Linked DNA regions of Homo sapiens: region 2 is linked to region 1. The links are contacts of gene promoters, found by promoter capture Hi-C in human tissues and cell types (Jung and others, 2019). All regions are on one chromosome and are shown on one strand. Each heading gives the region's core, a stretch centred on a gene start or on the middle of the fragment in contact. The rest is flanking DNA. Distances are from core to core; before and after follow the strand shown. Region 1 holds the start of ERBB4 (erb-b2 receptor tyrosine kinase 4). Region 2 overlaps ERBB4 (erb-b2 receptor tyrosine kinase 4).

What was found. The method cuts DNA at HindIII sites, captures the fragments that hold promoters and counts their contacts. A contact is called where the count stands out against the background at its distance.
Region 2: a contact is called between a fragment that was not itself captured here and the fragment with the promoter of ERBB4 in region 1, in 1 of the 25 tissues and cell types used here (hippocampus).

What each region holds. Positions count from the first base shown.
Region 1 is chr2:212,536,137-212,540,167 of GRCh38, forward strand. ERBB4 (erb-b2 receptor tyrosine kinase 4) reads right to left here and starts at 2,666. Exons shown (of 28, transcript NM_005235.3): 1 at 2,313-2,666. The coding sequence starts at 2,394. RefSeq lists an enhancer at 1,197-1,697. The HindIII fragment of the contact is 8,258 bases long and covers 1-4,031 here.
Region 2 is chr2:212,355,133-212,359,813 of GRCh38, forward strand. The region is part of intron 1 of ERBB4 (erb-b2 receptor tyrosine kinase 4); the gene reads right to left. Among named protein-coding and RNA genes, the nearest start is that of MIR548F2, 69 kb to the right of the region's middle. The HindIII fragment of the contact is 4,996 bases long and covers 647-4,681 here.

The DNA.
Region 1 (4,031 bases), core at 1,416-3,915:
CTGCTAACCGCGAGAGGGGAGACGCGCAATATGTATTTAGTTGGGAACACACAGCCACACACATACATAGGCACAAACACACACAGCCTCACTCATACCCCAGACAGTAACTTGTTTTTATAATAGCACTGCATTAAAACCAGCTGAACTTTCCCTGCCAGGTGCGGCAGGGTGGGGGTGGGGGAGGATGAAAAACGAAGTCCCCCGGGGCATTTACAGTTTCCAATGGATCACCTTAGTATGCGTGTTGCAATTATACCAGGGATGCACCCGAGAGCTTTTCTTTGTGCGGCCCTTTCATCTGGATCACTTTGTGTTTTGAACAAGTGAGGCTCGCCTTTGTGCCCCCAGAATTTCAAGTACAGAGTCACACACGGAACAACAATGGCACGCTAATCCTCGCGCTCTAAATGGGCTCACTTGTGGGTCTGACAATTCGCCCAGGGAAACGAGAAGAGACGAAGCGAGGGCGCGAGCTAGTGTCGCCTGAGACGAGGAAGAGGACAGCTGCAGAACTAATTTGGATTACATTCCTTGCAGAAATTCTGAAAAGGGCTTTTCGGCATAGCTCAACTCGGAGCCGCACAGTTAATACCAAATTGCTGCGGACTCGGAGCGGGGTCCCCCAGTGGCAGAGGCTGAACCAGACAGCCCCCAGTAGGTCGCCTCGTAGAAATTCCTCTCGGCTAAGCCTGCATGTCGGTCGCCAATGCCTTTGAATGGGTCAATGTGCATAATCAACCCATTGAGGGAAAATATGAAGGGACTCGAAGTGGGGAGGGAGATAAAAAGAGATGTATCTAAGAGGCCGCTTGGAATGTCAAGTCCGTGTTGGTGTGATTCCGGAGGTGGCTGGAGCGCGGGACCTGGTATGCGTGAAGAATTTCGGAGTAATTGGGAGGGTGCAAACGGCCAGCACAAACGCCTCACATGTGCCATTCGAAGGTCATTTTGAAAGACTCGATAATTGTAACTTGTTATTTACTAGGCAAAGGAGGCGGCGGCGGCGGCGGCGGCGGAGCGGGAAAACTACAGCTAGCCGTTTTCTTGGTGAGGTCAGAAGGACACCCTCCGGGGGCCTAAAGCGCTCCCTATCGCCACTCCCGGGGGCTTTATCACCTCAAGCTACTTCCCACGCTCCAGTCACCATCCCTGGATGGTTTCGGAAATCTCTCTGGCTCTCCAAAAGGCACCCCTTGGCCACGTCAAGACACCGGTCCTCCTCAGACCTCTCCCGTCCCACTTTCATCCCCAGGAAACTCTAGTGTCAGAAACTTTGAGCTCCATTGCACTGCAGGTGCTGTCATTAGTCCTGCAAGCCGTGGCGGGCCAGCCCCGCCGCGCTGCCTCTCGGGGTCAATTAGCCCTTTGCCTGCCCAGGTACCTGGGGCTCGAGCTCTCCAGCAAGCAGTGGCCGCGCACCCATCGCCGCTGCCGCTTTCGCCTCGGGTGGATCCAGTGACCCGCAGGCTCGGCAGCCTGGCCGGGCAGTAAACAGACAAGTTTGAAGGACTCCGGCCAATAGCAAGTTGAACTACAGGAAGAACTCTTCCCGGAGCCAAACACGGCAACCGACGGGAAGGCCGGGCTTCTGGCTCAAGTGTGCCAAGCCTTTTTTTTTTTTTTTAAGAGGTCAGGCAGGCGAGTAAGCGCCCCTCAAGTCAATGGGGAGAGGGCTCCGGGAAGCCGGCGGAAGAGGCCCAGAACTCCGGGCCCCGGACCGAGGCGCGCCCGCCTGCTGCACTCCGGCTGCCCGGGCTGGGCGCGAGTTGCGTCTGACGCCACAAGGCTCGGGCGACTGGGGGCGCAGCGGTCGCCAGCAGCACACACAGGTGCAAAGCCCGATTTTCTGAGCGCCGCTCTCCACCGCCCTTCGGGCTCGGCTCGGGAGAGGCCCAGCCAGCACCGCCCCAGGACCGCGGCCCCGGCGGTGCGGGTTCTGCCCTCGGGGACCCGACAGGGACAGAAGAGTCTCCTCTGACTGGGGATTTGGGTCTCCCATGTCCCGAACAACAGGCGCCACCAGAAGGGATCCCGCTTAGGCTCCCAAACAAAACGCTCGGGAAAGAAAAGCAGGGGGTTAAGGAGAGAAAAGAGGGACTCAGAGTGATTTTTCACGATAAATAAAGCAAACGCACACATACAGGGTAAGTTTCAAATGGAAAGAGGGGTGACCGAAAGCCCAGGGAAGAGGCCCCGGTCAAGCGGTCCCTCCACGCCTCCCGGGATGGGTGAAGAGGGCAGGGGAGCCACTCGAGGCAGCCCCGCCGGCGGCTGCAGGTTCGGCGACCGGAGTGCCAGAAGGAACCCACCTGACTGAGAATCGCTGGGCTGGACGGTCCCCGCCGCCACGAGAAGGCTCACCCAGACCCAAAGTCCTGTCGCCGGCTTCATTTTTTGGAAGTCTCAGATCCCGTGCTGACAATTACATGTCCAAATGGCATATCCCCCTTTCGGGCACGCGGAGGAGATCCCCCAGCCGGGCGCGCGTGGGGGTGCGAGGGGGGCGGGCGCGGCGCGCGCGGTGTGGCGACTCCCAGGGCGGGCGACCGAGTCCGCGCCCGCGGGTCCAGGGCCGGGGCCCGAGGAGGGGGCGAGTGTGAGCGCGTGTGTGCGCGTGTGGGAGTGTGCTCGGTGTGTGCGCTTGGCGCTCTGGGCCGGACTGTGCAGCTATTTCCCCGCGTGAGCCTTCGCTTGCTCGCTCCCTCCTCACTTTCTCTCTCTCTCACTGGTTGGTCAACAATAAAAAAGGAAGGGGGGCGAAAGGTTTCCAAAAAAAGTTGATTGCAAAGAGGCGGTAGGTTTCCGGCCTCTCCCCGCAGCCGGGCTATGTTCTGCTCCTTCTTCAGTTTCCTTGCACCTCCAGTCCAAATCGGGAGGGGAGCGGGGCGGGGGGAGCTTCTCGCTTCTCCCCGGATCCCGTCCTTCTTTTTCCTCTCAGCTTTCCTCACACTTGTCCGGCGGCTGCGGTAATTAAAGCTCCGAGCGTCATTTCCAGCGCTCCGCGGTCTCCAGCTGCAGCCCACAGAGAAATTAATAAGACTCCAGAAAAAAAAAAAAAAAAGGTGCGGGGGGCGGTGGGAATAAAACAACCCTCCACGCAACCAGGCCGGCTCTGCTCAGCCGCGCAAACCCCGCCCATGCTCTGACCCAACTAGCCACGCCCTTCCCCCCCCCTTCCAAAGGGAAATCTTATTGGCTCAGCCACTCCCCAAAATCCTGGGCCTCCGGAGTTGGGAAAACACCTGTCAGGGAAAGGGAGCCTCTTGGTGGGGGCAGGGGAAGCTGGATTTAAAGGGCTCACCGAAGCCATGCACTGAAGCACTCGTCTTCCCTCCCTGGCAGAGGCCTGGGACAGCTGGCCTGCTGAGTGGACGGACCATTGGAGGGCCGCTTACGGAAATTTTTTTTTTTTTTAAACAAGAAAGTCAGCATTTTCTCCGTTGCCCCACGGTGCTCATCTACAGACAAGACTTTCCCTAGAAATAAAAGTCAATGTTGCTTTCAGCAAAAAGCCTCCGCCCGCAGTACTCTGCCACTCATGGTCCACAATTAGAAAGTACTTTAAAAGTGTGTACAGCAAGTAACTGGTAGCCCCTGAGGATTAGGTAGTGGTAGGGGTATAATCACCGCCCCGCCTCCCGCCCCCAGTTATGCCATCTCTCCGATTACTCCCACATTTCTAAACTGACCAACATTGAGCCAAACTAAACTTTCACATTTATAAAGGCATATCCTTTGATTTTTAGATTTTATGTTTTTTTTTCACCTTTGGAGTTCATTCTTATTAAGCAGATTCTAGTCCAAAGCCACTGATTTGATCTTAAAGGGCTAGAAATTGTCCCCAGCCTGAAAGAATTTAAGGAGGCCACATCAGAACATAATTAACCTTAAATGATTCTGTTTATTCTACAGTAGACCCAGCTTTAGGCCCCTTCCTTGTCCTCACTCTGCACATTCATGGTCCCTAATCTGGAGGTCATTGCTAGTTACGAAAGTCTCTGACCTTTTCTGAATCTAAAATATTCTGG
Region 2 (4,681 bases), core at 1,895-4,394, 180 kb before region 1:
TTCAACTATTTATGCTATCTATACTTCATAGTACATAAACTCCATTGCACTTAGCACTTTGTGTATAATTTTACCTTGTATTTTATAACTAAGACTACTACATCTTTGGTAAAATTATCAAGAATAATAACAGTTTATTATTATCTAGACCCTAGGGTTTTGTACTACAGTATTGGGCTATAAGCAAACTATCAGCTCCATAATAAACTTTAGAATGAGCTTCTGCATGGTGAGGGGAAACATGGTTTGAAGTAAACTATGAAGTTTGCTCCCTTTGGAAATAAAAGGGTCTTGATCTACAAACCTACTGAAGTCTTTAAATAGTCATTGTATGTTGAGTGGCACTTGGCCCAGCTTTGGCTTAACAGCTATGGAAAAATCCAGGGGAGATAAGAAATCACCGTGCTAAAACTTTAAGGCATAGCAAGGCTGCTCGTTATTGTAATAGTTATGAGCCTATTTTTCCCAGCTTCTCCATAAAAGACATTTTAAAACCTTGCATATCATTGCAATATGCTCATAAATAAACAGGTAGTCATCTTGTCAGTATGGAGTTTATTATAGGTTGTAACTAAAACGTATCCTTTAAAGGGTATATGTTATATTAACTGTGATAGATATATATGCATGTGTGTATTTATGTATATATGTATATGCATGTATGTATATATGTGTGTATGTGTGAGTGTGTATATATATGTGTATATATATAAAATCATCTAATATATTCCAACCTATGGCATCACCTATCTGTTCCCACCTCACTTCCAACCTTTGCTAAGGAAGTTAGTCATGTCATTTGTAAGGGTAAATTTGAAATGTGCAGCTCAGTCCCACTGACGCTAAGGAAAAAAGCACTAAACAAAATTAAATTAATTCCTCTTTATATATAGTAATGCATTTCAAATAAACTCCCAGAGGGTATAAAACAGTTATTGTTTATCCTTACAATTATTATATATTCAAGTCTGAACATAAAAGCAATTGATCTTTTCTGTAAAATGCTGATTCTATTAACAAACCCACCTTTAAATATTACTCGCTGTTCCAAACTGCTTTTTGTAGACTGCTTCAGCCAGTACTTTGGAGGGGGCAGTCAACCATGTTGCTGTACTGATCCTCACACAACTACAGAAATTACAAATATGTTTTCACAGGAGCAGCAAGACCTCATTAATCAAGTTGTACACACTTCCATCAGCCACAGGCAGAGCCAATGGGTCTGTCTCAGATGTCCCACCCTAAATTCTGTATTTGTTCACTTTAGTTTATAGAGAATAAAGCCTTGTAAAAAATAAATCTGATGGCTCTACTAATGGCATAATTTGTTTTTCTCAGCTACTCCTCCTCCTCCCAATGGCAAATTACTTTTAAAAGTAAGTATCAAAAATACATTTCACAAAGCATGATCTTCATAATTTATCACATAACACTTGTCTCCTAAAGTAGGTTTTTTTTGTTATTTTACCTGCTTATCTAAAAATAAGTCAATACATTTAAGCATCCTCCTTTTGCAACTGTCTATACATGCCCTCTATTTTTAAATCATAATCACTACTGAGTCACAGATGGACAGATGAACCCATGTAAAAAAAAAACATTCCTTGATAAATCGATCTTTCCAACTTTTATCCTAATAGTATGAATGCTCATATTCAGTCAAATTGCTTGAACATCACCTATGATGCTATTTTTATGTGAAATAAAGTAAAAATAAATTTCTTGGTTTTGCTACCTTAGAAACTTATACATAGAAACACCATACTGACTAAAATGCATTATTAAACTCTAGATCATATCAATCAAACATAAGTATATTTTCCTCTCATTATCATTTTAAAGGATTTTTGTGGCCTAAGAAAAAATTATTTTAAACATGATCATTTGAATTTTAACATATGTAAATAAAATCATAAGATACATAATAGTGTCTTATACATAAGTGTCTTATCCTTCAAAAATTATGTGAGCAAATTTGCTATTCCTGGATATCATATGTCTCTCAGCTTTTGCTTTTTTCCCCATTTTCTTTTTGTTTACAATACAGGTCTGTAGTATTTCATTCAGAACAATGAGCTTTAAAATAAAAAAAGGATTCATTTTCTTTTAAATATTGTATGGTTACCTCCTTATTATGATAAATTATAAAGTTCCTTTAGATGGTGTCCTCATATTATTAAGATAAATTAGTCCAATTTATCAAAGAAAAGTGCTCAAGTGGATCCATCTGTCCATCTGTGAAGCATGAATGCTGTGAGAATACGACTTTAAAAATAGATTCGAAGTATAAGCGGTGTACAAAGTTATTTAAATATATTAAATTATTATAGGTAAATTATGGTAAATAGGCAAAAGGTAATTCAGCAGAAATATACAATAAAAATAAGCTTGTTTTATCAAGCTCAATATTTAAAAACATGTCACCTTTCTTTTTCCCATATTCATTTTATGAAAATGTACGTTTGCCCACAGAGAAGCCCAGACACTGAAAATGGTCTCATCAACACAACCAACATTTTCCTTTGACTAACCTCCTTCGATCTGTTTTAACACTGTAGAGTGCAGAAACGTAGCTTTCTATCAAAGACATAGTGTGCTGCCCTCCACTGTGTGGGAGACTTGAAATTGTTCAGCCCCACGGTCACTTGGTTACTACATTACACTGCAAGAATATAGTAGGTAAACACAGTGTGGTGTGGGGGGACAAAGTATCCTTTCTGAGCAGGGAGGTTTAGATAATGGTCAAACAATAATGGATTTCATGGTGTCGGATTCATTTGATTTCCACTGGCCTCACCCAGAATCATCTTTAGATTACTTTTGAACATCGTGTATTCATTGCTCTCCTATTTGTCAAAGTACATTTTCTAGGCCAAATTTTGCTTTTCAGAGCATTTCTAAATGACTTCCCATAGATGTCTTCAGGTTTCTGAGACAAATTTGCTTGACAGGGAAAATATTCAAACTATTATTTATAACCTCATTTCTAAAAGAACGGATACCAATTTTCTCATACATGAATACATTTTTTTAAAAAGAACTATTTAAATCTTTCCTGAAGGAGAATTCATAAAATACTTACGTGACCTGTGCTGATAATATCAGATTAATATTTTTAACAACTTCATATGCTTAAATATTTTAAGATCATGTCTTTTCCTACAATTTTACATTTGGTAAACAGCAAGCAGCATTTTGTACCAAATAACACACTCAGTTCTTAGCACTTTTTTTAAAAAAAAAACAGTATTATGTTTACCTAATAAAACACAGACAAGGAAGGTACACTTGTACAGTAGACAAATAATTTGTACAAAAAGTGTGCCATTCAAATAGCTGAAGATTATAAATGTTCATATGGGAGTAAATTCTTATTCCTTGATTAAATCATCTTAAATGACATCTTAGCTAATTTATAATTGGAGTTTTCAATTAAAATTTCTTGATTAATGAGGTTATATATGTTTTCCATTCCTGGAAATTTTGGTGTATATATTTACCCTGTTTAAATTATGAATCAATGATTTAAGTAACATGAAAAATGATAGAATAACGAATACTTAACTATCTAACATCACAAAGGCTAAATGTTGTCATTTTCACCAATTCATTCAGAGTGAATTAAAGAAAAGAGGTATAGAAATTCTCATGCTTTAATAATTTCTTAGCAATAACTCACCAGCCTTAAATATTGGATTCAAAATCTAACCTTCATTATGAAACCTTGTATGTCAAAAGATATATACAATATATGAAAAAAGATGAATACATTCACTGAATATATATTAAGTTTAGAAAAGTATATTATCCTAATTTACTGCATGAGTAACTGGTATAAATTATTCTATTTCAGCTACATCTCTGCACAATTCATTTAAAACTGATTATGAGAACTCTTCTTCTAGAAATGCAGAGGATGAGGGAAAATAAACCAATGCAACATCATATTTTGCCACATAATTTCACAACAGATATTGTTCTTAAAAATCATGAAATCTTCAACAGCAAGCCCCCTTTAAAATGTCTTGACTCAGAATACTGTGCAATATCTTATTAAATACTATTGTATATATCTAAACTTGTTCTAAATGTGATATATAAAAGTCAGAAATATTTACATATTTTAAAAACTTGTATATATATACATATATATATCCATATATATCTCCATCAATCTATATCGCTTTGATAGAAAATTTGATGATCTGTATTGAGAAGGCAGTTTTCTATTCTGCCTGAAGGTTCAGATAGGTTTCTATCAGAAATAAAGTGGAAGGTTTAGAAGAAAATCAACCAATAAAATCTATTTCAAATTGCTGAACATGAATTTGCAGGTTTTGTTTTGGGCTAATGTATCTGTTTTTTCCTAGTTTCCAACCTCACCAAGAAGAGCAGAGGGCTGGCAAACACTGGCTTAATTATCCCCATCAGTCTCAGAGACAAGGCGCTTAAGAGTTCTAGCTGCTGTAAACACTCCCCTGATAGCAGATAAGGAATCTGCTGAAAGGCAGTTTTGTCTGGGAAACCTCAGGGGCACACCAGTTAATCATTAGTGCAATATTGTATATGCATTACTACATCAAAGGAAACAGAACCCAATATTCTATTGTGAAGATTGTCTGTGTTTTCTTAAAGGTAAGAAAACAAATGCTAAACCAGAAAATAAAAGATAATAATTACA